Regions from separate parts of the Homo sapiens genome. Here regions 2 and 3 are each linked to region 1. Evidence: promoter capture Hi-C in human tissues and cell types (Jung and others, 2019). All regions are on one chromosome and are shown on one strand. The core of a region is centred on a gene start or on the middle of the fragment in contact, and the rest is flanking DNA. Distances in the headings are between cores, read along the strand shown. Region 1 holds the start of TSC22D4 (TSC22 domain family member 4). Region 2 overlaps SLC12A9-AS1 (SLC12A9 antisense RNA 1). Region 3 holds the start of EPHB4 (EPH receptor B4).

Region 1 (4,714 bases), core at 1,205-3,704:
TACAGCAAAGCTGGAGGCAGGACTGAGATGGGTGGCTGGGGGAAAAGAAAGACCCCCACATTCAGGATGGGGCTGCAGTGCAGAGACTGGCAGCGCGCAAGGCCTACCTTTTACTTTTCCTCCCCAAATCCTGGCAGCTCCTCCCCTAGGGACCCAGCTACCCAGCTATCCAGCTGGGGCCTCCACCCTCATCACCTAGAGGCAGAGGGGCTGAGACCAAGACAGAAGAAGGCCTGATGAGGGGGCCACATATGCTACAGGCTACATGAAGACCAAGACAGAGAATCAGAGGCCAGGGAGAAAGAGAGAGGGTGCAGAAAAACAGGAAGGAGGCTGAGACAGAAAATGAAGTAGGAGGAAGGGGCTTCAGAGTGACCTGGCAGGCACAGAGAAGAGGGCTATCTGATCTTATAAAGTGATGGAGAAGGAGGAGGAGAGGGGGGGGAGGAGGAGGAAGGAGGCTCAAGATAGAGGTTAGGCCAGGGCTGATGGGCCAGCCCTAGAACCCAGGTCTTACCTGCCCCATCTCTTCTGGAGCACCCAACTCCATCCGCAGCCGCATGTCTACAGCTTTCCTCCGGGACAGTGGAGGGGTCCTGGCCCCTGAGCCCCCAGCCTCCGCTTCCACCCTCAGAGAGGGCAGGGGCGTGGCAGCCCGGGATGTGCCCGCACTCTCACCGGTCTCAGGCTCTGGGGGGCGCTGCTGGGGTGAGGAGGCCGACAGTGGGGGTTTCTCTGCCTTGGCTTTGCTGGGCACCACCAGCTGGCCCAGTCCCCCAGTGAAGGAGCGGGCCTGAGGTCCAGGAGAGGTGGGGGGTGGACGGAGCCAGGAGGTGGGGCCCTGAGACAGGCCTGACGGTGGGGTGGGGGCGCCCAGGCCGAGGCTGGCCAGCTCCAACCTGGAATCCAAAGATCTGCCCCCGGCGCCCCCTGAGGCCCCTCGAATTCCCTCCAGGAGTCCGCCGAAGCTGTGGGGCTCCAGGTCTCGCTCATAAACATCCACACACGTCCAGCGACCGCGGCGATAAGGCTCTCCCAGGCCGTGGGGCAGCTTCACCACCCGGAAACGGGAGGAAGGGGCCCCAGGTGGTGGGGAGCCATTCCGGGGGGTGCCCTTGCCCCCCGGATCGGGGCTGGGCTCCCCATTGGGCAGGCGGGGCGGGGGCCCGGTTGGGGGCTGTGGGGTAGGGGGATCCGAAGCCCCTGGGCTCCCAGGGCCCTCATAGTCCGTGGTGACGCTGGTGATTTGGAAACTACTCTTCTTCTTGCCCCCGCTCATGGTCCCTGGGGCTCAGGGCTGGGCCAAGGTTGGGGGTGGGTTGGGGCTCCTTGAAGGGGCTCAGGCACCCCTGGAACAAGGGGGCCACATGGCGGGGACATCCGAGCCCCTGGGGACGTCTGGGTCCGACATGGCAGGAGGGCCTGGCGGGAACCGGGGGTGCCTGCTGGGTGAGGGGAGAAGAGGAGAGGGGAGGTGGCGGGAGGGGGGAGCAGGGGCAGGTTTTTCCTGCTGCTGTTGCTGCTGAACTCCAGAGCTGAGTTTGCAAACTGGAAAAAGAGGGGGAGAGAGAGAGAGAGAGAGAGAGAGAGAGTGTGTGTGTGTGTGTGTGTGTGTGTGTGTGTGTGTGTGTGTGTGTGTGTGAAACCAGTGGGCAGGCCACCTCCGGGGCTTCCTCTCCGGGGAGCAGAGTGGGGGAAGGGGAAACCGTCAGAGACCCAGAGACAGGCAAGAGATGACAGAGACCAGGGCAGAGGGGACTGGATCCAAGAAGGCACTCAGAGTAGAAAGAGGCAGATGAGTCCCAGAGTTGGGCATTTCTCGCCTGGGATTCTGACTCAGGGGGCCCGTATTGTCCCAAGAGCTCGGACTCCAGGGCCTGGGAGAACCAGGCTGAAGCAGCTCCCCAGCCTGGCCCGGCCACTCAGAGAGACCTCTCCTGGGCCTCGAGCCCCCACCCTCACCCCAGCTCCCACATCTCTGGGGCAGGCCCTGCCCGGCTACCCCCCAGCGCCCCACCCAGCCCTGAACCCTACCTCTGGGGCCTCGGCCACTGATCTGAGCCTGAGGGTCCCGGCGCCTAAGAGGTCGGGCTGTCCGTTCCCTGGGGCCTCCTGGCCATGGGCAGTGGCGGGGCACGCAGGCGGCGATCAGAGGCTGTCCCGTCCTCTCCGGGGGCCGCGGCTCATCCTGCCAGGCATCTCCGAGGAAAGTTTGCTCTCCGGAAAAGAAGAAACCCGCGCCTCCTCCGAGGAGCCTAGGAGCGGCCTCTGAAGCCCCAAGGGTCTGGAGACTGATGTGGGAGGGGGCGGCCGAGCCCCCCTCTGCTCCCGGTGGCAGCCAGCGAGTGGGTGTCCCGAGTCTCCTCCCGCGTGACCCTGCTGGGTCCGTGTCTCCGCTCCTCGGCTCCCCTGGGTCTCTGCCTCTCCGTCTTTCTCTTTCTGGGCTGTTGACAACCCCCACACCAGGAAGTCCTGCCTCCTCGGGCCTGCTGACTGCTCCTCTCCTCCTCCTCCTCCTCCTTCCCCTCTTCCTCCCCTTCCTCCTCCCTCCCTCCCTCCTGGGGCTTCCCGCCAGCTGGCCCGGGGCCAGGCCTGCCACAGCCGCTGCTGTTGCAGTTGCTGCAGCCACTGCTTAGGCTGCTGCTCCTGGGGGCCCCAAACAGACTCCCTTAACCCCACACCTGCCGGGCCCTAGCCCCACTCTTGCAGGGAGGGGCTGCAGGGGGCGGGGCTCGGGGAGAAAGGGGAGGAGCTTGCAGGGAGGCGAGGGATTCCCTTACTTGTAGTCAATTGCTGCCATTGGCCTAGAGACACACAGAAGAGACGGAAGGCACAGGCCGGGAGGTGTGCTGCATGCCCACCCAGAAGTTCCCAGTCCCTGCTGTGGGGCAGCTGTGGCTGTTACTGTCATTCTCCTTTGGTTTTCACAGCAACTGCATTATTCCCCCCATTCCTTATTTTTAAAAGTGGATTATTGCCGGATCCCGGTGGTGGCTCATGCCTGTAATCTCCGCACTTTGGGAGGTCGAGGAAGGAGGATCGCTTGAGACCAGTTTGGACAATATAATAGCAAGACCCCATCTCTACAAAAAATAAAAAAAAATAGCTGGGCATGGTGATGTGCACCTATAATTCCAGCTACTCAAAGGTGGGAGGATCGCTTGAGCCCAGGAGTTCGTGACCAGCCTGGGCAATATAACGAGATCCCCATCTCTACAAAAAATTTAAAAAATTAGCACTTTGGGAGGCCGAGGCGGGCGGATCACGAGGTCAAGAGATTAAGACCATCCTGGCCAACATGGTGAAACCAAGTCTCTACTTAAAATACAAAAATTAGCCAGGTGTGGTGGCGGGCACCTGTAGTCCCAGCTACTCGGGAGGCTGAGGCAGGAGAATCACTTCAACCTGGGAGGCGGAGGTTGCAGTGAGTCGAGATCACGCCACTGCACTCCAGCCTGGTGACAGAGTGAGACTCCATCTTAAAAAAAAAAAAAAACTGAGTGTGGTGATGTATACCTGTAGTCCCAGCTACTCAGGAGGCTGTGAGGCAGGAGGATCTCTTGAGCCCAGGAGGTTGAGGATGCAGTGAGCCAAGATTGTGCCACTGCACTCCAGCCTGGGCAACAGAGTGAGACCATGTCTCAAAAAAAAAAAAAAAGTGGATTATTATGAAAATTTTCAAACATGCCATGCAGACATGGGGAGACCATGCAAACTCCACACAGATGGTGGTCCCAGCCCAAAATCAATTTTTAGAAAATCATCAATGTTATAATGAAATGACATTCAATGAAATGACATTGTGTGGGGGCCAGCTGTAGTTTGCTGGACTATTTGAAATCAGATCCTAGATGTTATACTATTCCCCTTTCCCCCAACCTGCCCCCGCCTTTTTTTTTAGAGACAGGGTCTCTCTCTCTCTCTGTTGCCCAGGATGGAGTGCAGTGGTGCGATCATAGCTCACCACAGCCTGGAACTCCTGGGCTCAAGCCATGCTCCTGCCTCAGCCTCCCAAGTAGCTGGGACCACAGACACACACTACTACGCCTGGCTAAATTTCTTTAAAAAAAAATTTTTTTTTTTGGTAGAGATGGGGATCTTGCAATGTTGCCCAGGGTGGTCTTGAACTCCCGGCCTCAAGTGATCCTCCTGCTTCTGCCTCCCTAGTAGCTGGGACCACAGGTGTATACCACCATACCTGGCTAATTTTTTAGTTTTTGTAGAGACAGGTTATTACTATGTTGCCCAGGCTGGTCTCGAATTCCTGGCCTCAAATGATACTTCCACCTGGGCCTCCCAAAGAGCTGACATTACAGGCGTGAGCCATGGTGCCTGGCCTCAGGGAAATTTCTAACCCCTCTTTTTTTGAGACGGAGTCTCGCTCTGTCGCCCAGGCTGGAGTGCAGTGGCTCTATCTCGGCTCACTGCAAGCTCCACCTCCCGGGTTCACGCCATTCTCCTGCCTCAGCCTGTAGCTGGGACTACAGGCACCCGCCACCATGCCCGGCTAATTTTTTGTATTTTTACTAGAGACGGGGTTTCCCCGTGTTAGCCAGGATGGTCTTGATCTCCTGACCTCGTGATCCGCCCGCCTCGGCCTCCCAAAGTGCTGGGATTACAGGCATAAGCCACCACGCCCGGCCTCTAACCCCTCTTTAGGGGTACGTAAAAATAAAACAATGCAATACCTACCCTCTTTATGTATTTATTCTTT
Region 2 (4,714 bases), core at 1,627-4,126, 370 kb after region 1:
GACCCCAGTGCCAACGAAGAGTCTTGCCCCCGACGTAGAGCTTTCATGCCATAGTTGGTCCAATGTTCTGTGGACCATTAAAGAGCAAAGATGGACTGCCCCAACCGGTTTTTATAATTTCCTAAAATCATACATTAATTTTACTAGAGGATCATAGAAGTTAAAGACTTAAAACAAATTTTAGCAATTAAGACAGGATACCAACATGCAAATGCCTAGTTAAAATGGATCAAATATTCCATCTGCACATTAAACAAAAGCAATTGTTATGCTTGTGCACATGGCAGGCCAGAGGCCCAGACTGTCCCCCTTCCACTAAGGTGGTCCTCCAGTCGACCAGGTGTAGGTTGCATGGTAGCTCTTTTCCAGGATTCTACAGCCTGGAGTAATAAGTCATGCCAAGCTCTCTCTGCTGTATCCCTAAGTCTGGCACCCTGCGGGTCAGCCCCTGAGGGCCATCCAGCTTCCGTCTCCCAACACTAAGTTCACTTCGTATCTCTCACTACAGGGAGGAAACTTAGCATTCCTTGGAGACCTGAAGGGATGCGATGAGCTTAAGAATTTTCAAGAGCTTATTAATCAGTCAGCCCTTGTTCATCCCTGAGCGGATGTGTGGTGGTATTTTGGTGGACCTTTACTAGGCACTCTGCCGAATAACTGGAGTGGCACTTGTACTTTAGTCCAATTGGCTATCCCTTTCACCCTGGCATTTCATCAACCAGAGGGAGAAAAAATAAGACATTGTAAAGCGAGAGAAGCCCCTTATGGGTCTTTTGACTCTCATGTCTATTTAGACGCAATTGGAGTCCCATGAGGAATACCAGATCAATTTAAAGCTTGAAATCAAATAGCTGCAGGATTTGAGTCAATATTTTGGTGAGTGACAGTTAATAAAAATGTAGATTAGATAAACTACATCTATTACAACCAACAGCAATGAGCTTTTCATGAGTTAAAAGAAAAACTCATGTCGGCCCCAGCCCTGAGGCTACCTGAACCCTTTACACCCTACGTGTCAGAAAGAGAAAAAAAGGCAGTTAGAGTTTTAACCCAGACTGTAGGGCCCTGGGCAAGGCCAGTGGCCTATCTCTCAAAACAACTAGACAAGGTTTCCAAAGGCTGGCCCCCAGGTTTAAGGGCCCTAGCAGCAATGGCCCTGTTAGCACAAGAAGCAGATAAACTAACCCTTAGGCAAAACCTGAATATAAAGTCCCCCCATGCTGTGGTAACTTGAATGACTACCAAAGGACCTCATTGGTTACAAATGCTAGATTAACCAAGTACCAAAGCTTGCTATGTGAAAATCCCCACATAACCATTGAAGTTTGCAACACCCTAAACCCCACCACCTTGCTGCCAGTATCAGAAAGCCCAGTTGAACATAACTGTATAGGGGTGTTAGACTCAGTTTATCCTAGCAGGCCCAACCTCCGAAACCATCCTTAAACATCAGTAGACTGTGAGCAGTATGTGGACGGAAGCAGCTTCGCCAGCCCCTGCAAAGTGACTCTGAAGAAGATGACAAGCCCTGCTCCAGTCACACCCGGAAGCTGACTGGTCCACGCATGGCCGAAGCATGAGAAAACTCATCGCAGGACTCATTTGCCTTAAAATTTGGAATTTTACAGTAAGGACTTCAACTGACCTTCCTCAGACTGAGGACTGTTCCCAGTATATACATCAAGTCACTGAGGTAGGACAAAAGGTTGCTATGGTCCTATTATTTTACAGTTATTATAAGTGTACTAGAACTCTAAAAAAGCCTTGTTTGTATAATGTTATTCTGTACAAGGTATGTAGCCCAGGAAATGACCAACCTGATGTGCGTTATGACCCACCTGAGCCTCCCATGACCACAGTTTTTAAAATAAGATTAAGAATGAAGACTGGTGGGGGCTCACAAACGATATGAGTAAAGTGTTAACCAAAACAGAAGAAAAAGAGGTGCCCAAACAAGTCACGTTAAAATTTGATGCCTGTGCTATCATTAATAGTAATAAGTTGGGAATAAGGTGTAGTTCTCTTAATTAGAAAAGAGGCTATATGGCAGAAAATAAGTACATCTGTCATAAATTAGGACTGTGTGGAAATAAATGTAAATACTGGTCTTGTGTCATTTAAGCCACTTAAATTAAAAAAAAATAAAAAGGACCCAGTCCACCTTCAGAAAGGAAAAAATGGCCCTTCCTGTACTAAAGGACAATGTAACCCTTTAGAGCTAGTAATAACCAATCCCCTTGATCCTCGCTAGAAAAAAGAGGAGCGTGTGACCTTAGGAATCAACGGGGCTGGACTGGATCCTCGAGTAAATATCTTAGTTCGAGGAGAAGTTTATAAACGCTCTCCTGAGCCAGTATTTCAAAACTTCTATGATAAACTAAAAGTGCCAGTACCAGAAATTCCAGGAAAAACAAGAAATTTGTTTTTGCAATTAGCCGAGCGTGCAGCCCAGTCTCTCAATGTCACTTCCTGTTATATATGTGGAGGAGCTGTAATAGGAGATCAATGGCCATGGGAAGCCCGAGAATTGGTACCTACATACCCAGTTCCTGATGAATTCCTGGCACAAAAAAATCACCCTGATCACTTCTAGGTCCTAAAAGCCTCAATCATTGGACAATACTGTATAGCAAAAGTGGAGAAGGACTTCATCCTTCCTGTAGGAAGACTGCATGGTGGACTTCAAACCACACAGAGAAAAATCCATTCACTAAATTTCCAAAGTTGCGGACCGTTTAGGCCCACCCAGAATCCCACCAGGACTGGACGGCCCCCACTAGGCTATACTAGATATGTGGACATAGAGCCTACGCTAGGCTGCCTGACCAGCAGACAAGTAGTTGTGTTATTGGCGCTATTTTATTTTATTTATTTATTTATTTTTTTGAGACGGAGTCTTGCTCTGTCGCCCAGGCTGGAGTGCAGTGGAGCAATCTCGGCTCACTGCAAACTCTACCTCCCGGGTTCACGCCATTCTCCTGCCTCAGCCTCCCGAGTAGCTGGGACTACAGGAGCCCGCCACCATGCCCGGCTAATTTTTTGTATTTTTAGTAGAGACGGGGTTTCACCATGTAAGCCAGGATGGTCTCGATCTCCTGCCCTTGTGATCCACCCGCCTCGGCCTCCCAAAGTGCTGGGATTATAGGCGTGGGCCACCACGCCCGGCCTATTGGCACTATTAAACCATCTTTCTTCCTACTGCCCATAAAAACAGGCCAACTCCTAGGCTTCCCTGTCTATGCTTCCCGTGAAAAGAGAAGCATAGCCATAGGAAATTCAAAAAATGATAAATGGCCCTCTGAGAGAATCATACAATATTATAGGCCTGCTACTTAGACACAAGACGGCTCGTGAAGATACTGGACCCCCATTTATATAATCAACTGAATCATATGGTTACAAGCTGTCTTAAAAATAATCACTAATAAAACCAGCAGAGCCTTGACTATTCTAGGCCGGCAAGAAACTCAGATGAGAAATGCTCTCTATCAAAATAGATTAGCTCTCGACTACTTGCTAGCAGCTGAAGGAGAGGTCTGTAAGAAATTTAACCTTACTAATTGCTGCCTACACATAGATAATCAAAGGCAAGTAGTTGAAGACATAGAGATATGACAAAACTGGCACATGTGCCTAGGCAAGTGTGGCATGGATTTGATCCTGAGGCCATGTTTAGAAAATGGTTCCCAGTGCTAAGAGAATTTAAAAGTCTTATAATAAGAGTTATAATAGTAATAGGAACCTGCTTACTGCTCCTTTGTTTGCTACCTGTACTTCTTCAAATGATAAAAAGCTTCATTGCAGGCCGGGCGCGGTGGCTCACGCCTGTAATCCCAGCACTTTGGGAGGCCGAGGCGGGTGGATCACGAGGTCAGGAGATGGAGACCATCCTGGCTAACACGGTGAAACCCTGTCTCTACTAAAAATACAAAAAAATGAGCCGGGCGTGGTGGCGGGCGCCTGTAGTCCCAGTTACTCGGGAGGCTGAGGCAGGAGAATGGCATGAACCCAGGAGGCGGAGCTGGCAGTGAGCCGAGATCGCGCCACTGCACTCTAGCCTGGGCGACAAAGTGAGACTCCGTCTCAAAAAAAAAAAAAAGCTTCATCGCTACCTTAGTTCACCAAAATGCTTCAGCACAAGTGTACTATATGAATCACTATCGATCTGTCGTGCAAGAAGACATGGGTAGTGAGAATGAAAGTGAGAACTTCCACTATTGAGTGAGTCTCAAAGGGGAGGAATAAAGGAAGAGACCGCCCCTCATATTGTCTTATGCCCAATTTCTGCCTCCAAAGAAAGAAAAAGTAAAAACTAAAAGGCAGAAATAAAATCCACAAGCAGACAGCCTGGTGCCACACCCTAGGCCTAGTAGTTAAAGATCGACCCCTGACCTAATCGGTTATGTTATCTATAGATTATAGACATTGTATAGAAAAGCACTGTGAAAATCCCTGTCCTGTTTTCTTCCAATCTAATTACCGGTGCATGCAGCCCCCAGTCACGTACCCCCTGCTTGCTCAATCGATCAAGACCCTCTCTTGCGCGCCCCCTGAGAGTTGTGAGCCCTTAAAAAAGACAGGAATTGCTCACTCGAGGAGCTTGGCTCTTGAGACAAGAGTCTTGCCGATGCCCCCGGCCGAATAAACCCCTTCCTTCTTTAACTCAGTGTCTGAGGAGTTTTGTCTGCGGCTCGTCCTGCTACATTAATGGAAA
Region 3 (4,714 bases), core at 1,215-3,714, 350 kb after region 1:
AGAGTGGAGGAGGGAGGGTACAGGAATCCCCTCGGGGGCCGGCAATGTGGGGGGCATTGGGCGCTGGGAAGGGTGGAGAGGGGAGCCAGAACACCTGGCTCCCACCCCATGGGAGCTGCAGGAGAGAAGAGAAAGAGGGTGGGTGAGGCAGCCTCTTCCTGGGGACCAAATGATGTCCTCCAGCTAGGGGTCAGATGGGAAGCCAGCCAGCCTGAGGTGAGAGGCGCAAGGTCCCCATGGGTGGCAAGAGACAGCCCTGCTCACTGGGGACAGGATGCCCGGGTTCTGGGAAGGGGGTGGATAGAGGCTGCCGTCTCCACCCTCCATTGTTCCAGCCGGGATAGTGTTTTCCTGTCTCCAATTTACACACTGTCTCTGCCTCGGGCTGTCCGCAGCCCAGAGCAAGCGCAGGCTCCCTTTCTGCGTCCCAGCTCAGCTGCAGCCACGCTTTGATCTGTCAGTTCGCATGTCTCTCACCTATCTCTCCTCCACTCTCTGTCCACCTCCGTTTCTCTTTCTGACAGTCACTATCTCTCCTTCGCTTTCGGCCTCCACTTCTCGCTGTTCCTCGCGGCACAGGGCCTTGGATAAACTACTTAACCTTAACTAAGCCCCAGCCTCCTCATCTGAAAAATGGGGGCAATAATAGCACCACCCTTAGCGTTGCTGGATGGGTGAAATTAATATTTGTAAGGCGCTCAGCACAGGCCTGGTGCTTGGAAACACTCAGGTAATAGGTGTCACAATCACCATTTCCTCTTTGCGTCTTTCCTTCTCACCACACCTCGTCCTCGTGGTTTTTCCACCCCTTTGGCCTTCCTCTTCCCCTCGTTCATGGTTTTTGTTCCCCCTTCTCCGTTCTCTGAGCTGGGCAAGCCTCCCCTCACTCCCAACCCCACACCTAGCCTTTGATCCCCAGCCCAGGGCAGTCCTGCCCAGCCAGGGGGAGAGGGTTTTTCTAACGCCGCTGAATCCTTCCCTTTGGGAGTCCCTCATAGCCTACCGCCCCATAACCACTTTCATACCAGACAGAGAAAGGGGGGTGTTGGCAGCTCACTGAAAGGACATTAGGGACACAGGAGAGTTTCTAGGGCTCTTGGCTCCCCCTTTAGGGGACCAGGAGGGACAGCGATCCATGGCCAAAGAAATGCTTGGAGAGACCAGGAGGTGGGAGATAGACTGGGTTAGTTAGGGCGATGTGGGGGCTGTGTAGGTCAGTTTCTACCTGGGGGCTGTGTAGGTCAGTTTCTACCCGCTCCTAGGTCTCAAGGGAAGCCCGGGACTCACCTGGGGCCGGGGTCTAGACCGCATTTAAAGGGATGGGGTGCAGCCTGTAGAAACCAAGGAGCCACCCTATACCAGGGGCAGGAGCAGTGGGCGGGAGAGCGGTTTGGGGGTTTGCTGTGTGAATGCAAAGGAGGCCATCCTGTTGCAGGAGTGTGGAACTGGAGGATCAAGGTGTGATCGCTAAGGAATTGGCGCTGGGGGTCGTTTTAGGGCCTAGCACGAAAAGTTGTGCCTTGTCTGCTGTTGCTTCTCCAGAAACCTTCCCTCATGTACGGCGGGAGGTGGGACTGGGACAGAAACTTTGCAGATAGTTTTGAATAGTGGGGTAGGGAGGAAAGGAAAGGCAGCCAGGGGCGTATGTAATCAGCAGTGAGAGTTCGGGGAGCCCGGGCAGGGGAATGTCCCGGGTCGTAGCCAGACTCCATCTCTTTCCCAAACAAAAGAAAACTCCACTACCCGTCGGGCGCCTCTTCCCCGCCCCCCTCCCGTTCCAGCACTATCGGTCCGAAGTGTTTGGGACTGCAGTGCCCGGGTAGGGGTAGTCAGAGGCCGGCCCCTCCACTCCGAGGCCCAGATGTTGGGGGGGAGGTCCCAGGAGTGACGGGGTGCGCCCCCCCCCGCAAGGAAACTCACCTTCCAAAGCTGCGGCCAACGAAGCCCAGCAGAGCAGCACCCGGAGCTCCATGGCGCCGCCTCACTCGGGTAGGATCCGAACTGAGTTTGGGGGGCCCTCGCCCCCCCAGGTCTGACTCTCCCTGGGCGGGTGGACGCCGATACTCCGCGCGGGACTCCTCGTCGGGGCCCTCAGCGCGGGCCCATGCGAGCGTGCGGGGCACCGGGCGGCGGCGCCAAGTGTGGCCCCGCGTCTGTGCCGCGCGCGCGGGCGGCGGGCCCGGAGCGTGCTGGCAGTGGCCGCGCCGGGCGGGCGCGCAGCAAGACGTGGCTGGAGTTGGGGTCCCTCCGGGGCCTCGGGGTCCCGCCCCGGGTGGCGGGGGCTGAGCCGGCCGCTCGCGGTCTCCCCCCCTCCCTGGAGTGGCTCTGCTCGCGCCGCCGGGCCGAGTGCTCTCCTCGCGGGCGGGGATGGTGGGAGCCCGAGCGGGGACGGAGCGGGAGGGAGGGAGACTGCGGCGCGGAGCCGGGCGGGCCGGGCCGGGCAGGGGCTGAGCTGCGCTGGAACTGGGCCGGGCGGCGCCGGGCCCGGGAGGGAGGGGCGCGCGGGGGGCGGGGGCAGCTCTCCCAACGCGGGGGCTCCGCGAGTGAGCCCCGGGCGCGCTGATTGGAGCTCACGCTACTGAATAATTCATGAGGGAAGCGGAGAGGGGCACCGAGTGGAGCAGGTCGGGAAGTTGAGAGAAAGTTTGGAGAAGGGGGAGGGGCGGCGGGTGAGGAACCCCGGGACCGCCCAGATGTGCGCCGTGGCGGTGCGCGCTGTCCAGGACCGAGCATGTCGGGGCTGGGGCCCAGGGACCCCCGGGACAGGCCCGAACCCGGCTGGCACCAGGGAGCAGAGAAAACACACACCCAGCAGCAACACGGAGGGCCGCCCAGGCGTGCACGTAAATGTTCACCGCGCACACAAAGCCCGCTCTGACCTTGCTGCGGACTCTAGATGCCGCTCTTGGATGCGCCCACCACCCTCTAGTGGGCGCAGGGACTGCGTTTTGGGGGAAAAGGAAGGAAAAGGGAGTAGAAGCTTTGGAGAATTGACGGCCGCCCAGGGGGCCTCAAGGAGCAATCCCAGTTTGGATAGCCTTGCAGCGAACGTTCACACAGTCACCCCATAAACATTCAGTGTTGGGGACCTACTGTGCGCGCAACCAAGCCCTGAAAAATGTCCAGAGGAGGCGCGCACTAAGCTGCGCTAGGGAGTAGAGAAAAATCGAGGAAACAACGGTAAAGAAAAGGTGGGTGTGGCGGGCGCGGTGGCTCACGCCTGTAGTCCCAGCATTTTGGGAGGCAGAGGCAGGCGGATCATTTGAGGTCAGGAGTTCAAGACCAGCCTGGCCAACATGATGAAACCCCGTCTCTACTAAAAATACAAAAATTAGCTGGGCATGGTGGCGCGCGCCTGTAATCCTAGCTACTCGGGAGGCTGAGGCAGGAGAATTGCTTGAACCGGGACCTAGGAGGCGGAGGTTGCAGTGAGCTGGGAGCTGAGATCGCGCCACTGCACTCCAGCCTGGGCTACAGAGTGAGACGAAATCTCAAAAAAAAAAAAAAAAAAAAAAAAGGTGGGTGTGTCCGAGAGGGTGAGGGGTCCGGCTAGATCTCCAAATCGCCCTTCTCACTCTCACTCTCGTGTTTTGGGGGGGCTTCCCCGCCGCCCGCAGCCATGACCCCTGAGGCTGGGGCTGCGGCTGCGGCTGCTGTCTTTCCTGAGCTGTTTCCTGTCTGGCTCCTGGGGGCCCTCGGGATGGCTGGGAGGGGCCCTTCCTCTCACTGCCAACTCCCCTCACCCTCCCATCAGTTAGCGGGGAGGGTCCAGCACAGCCGTGCTCCTCCCACCAACCCCCTTCTACTTCAGGGAACTTAACAGTATGGGTTACTGGATAGATGGATTGGAGGGGGTGCTGCTCCAGGAGTCAGCCCCTCCAAGGGGCAGAAGGAAAGGACTTAGACTCCCACAGTAATTAGCGGGGACAGATTTTTTTTTTTTTTTTGAGACAGAGTCTCCCTCTATTTCCCAGGCTGGAGTGCAGTGGCGTGATCTGGGCTCACTGCAACCTCCGCCTCCCAGGTTCAAGCGATTCTCCTGCCTCAGCCTCCCGAGTAGCTGGGATTACAGGCACAGGGCACCAACCCCGGCTAGTTTTCGTATTTTTAGTAGAGACAGGGTTTCGCCATGTTGGCCAGGCTGGTCTCGAACTCCTGACCTAAAGTGATCCACCCACCTTGGCCTCCCAAAGTGCTGGGATTACAGACGTTAGCCACCGCGCCCAGCCGGAGGACAGAATCTTGAGGAGCCCAGCAAGAGAGACGTTGGAGCCCAGCAAGAGAGACGTTGGAGTCCAGGATGCTTGGGGGGCTGCCAAGCGCCCTTACGTCCCAGAAAGGACAGCCGGGCCTGTGATAACCTCTTGTCCCGGCTTACTTATCTTCCTGCTGCAAGAGGTGTTCCCCACACCCCTGCCCTTCCTTGCTGTTCTGCCTGGGTCCTGCGCCCGGGTTGGGGGGGGTGGGCCGGTCACCGAGGGCAGGAAACAGCCGGCTTCACTGGAGCCAGGCAGACCAGGCTGGAGCTGGGAATTCCCTCCTCCCTCCCCGATGCAGGCCCAGTCTCCCCTTCTCTTATTCAGCTTCTCCCTCGGGGTTCTCTGCAACCCTCTCCCAAACCCCTGCCCTGCCTTTTGCCACTCTCACTCTGTACCCAGATCCTGTAGCCTCTAAAAGTTATGTCTTCTGGCTGGGGACAGTAGCTCAGGTCTGT

The links. The method cuts DNA at HindIII sites, captures the fragments that hold promoters and counts their contacts. A contact is called where the count stands out against the background at its distance.
Region 2: a contact is called between a fragment that was not itself captured here and the fragment with the promoter of TSC22D4 in region 1, in 1 of the 25 tissues and cell types used here (dorsolateral prefrontal cortex).
Region 3: a contact is called between the fragment with the promoter of EPHB4 here and the fragment with the promoter of TSC22D4 in region 1, in 2 of the 25 tissues and cell types used here (bladder and heart right ventricle).

The regions. Positions count from the first base shown.
Region 1 is chr7:100,476,760-100,481,473 of GRCh38, forward strand. TSC22D4 (TSC22 domain family member 4) reads right to left here and starts at 2,455. Exons shown (of 5, transcript NM_030935.5): 1 at 2,035-2,455; 2 at 518-1,548. The coding sequence starts at 1,279. TSC22D4-C7ORF61 (TSC22D4-C7orf61 readthrough) reads right to left here and starts at 2,455. Exons shown (of 6, transcript NM_001395846.1): 1 at 2,035-2,455; 2 at 518-1,548. The coding sequence starts at 1,279. RefSeq lists enhancers at 2,091-2,160, 2,861-2,970 and a silencer at 2,611-2,770. The HindIII fragment of the contact is 44,126 bases long and covers 1-4,714 here.
Region 2 is chr7:100,842,482-100,847,195 of GRCh38, forward strand. The region is part of intron 1 of SLC12A9-AS1 (SLC12A9 antisense RNA 1); the gene reads right to left. It also overlaps a transcript of SLC12A9 not described here. Among named protein-coding and RNA genes, the nearest start is that of SLC12A9-AS1, 7.8 kb to the right of the region's middle. The HindIII fragment of the contact is 3,628 bases long and covers 1,063-4,690 here.
Region 3 is chr7:100,825,059-100,829,772 of GRCh38, forward strand. EPHB4 (EPH receptor B4) reads right to left here and starts at 2,465. Exons shown (of 17, transcript NM_004444.5): 1 at 1,921-2,465. The coding sequence starts at 1,972. It also overlaps a transcript of SLC12A9 not described here. RefSeq lists enhancers at 2,469-3,264, 4,061-4,714. The HindIII fragment of the contact is 16,187 bases long and covers 1-4,714 here.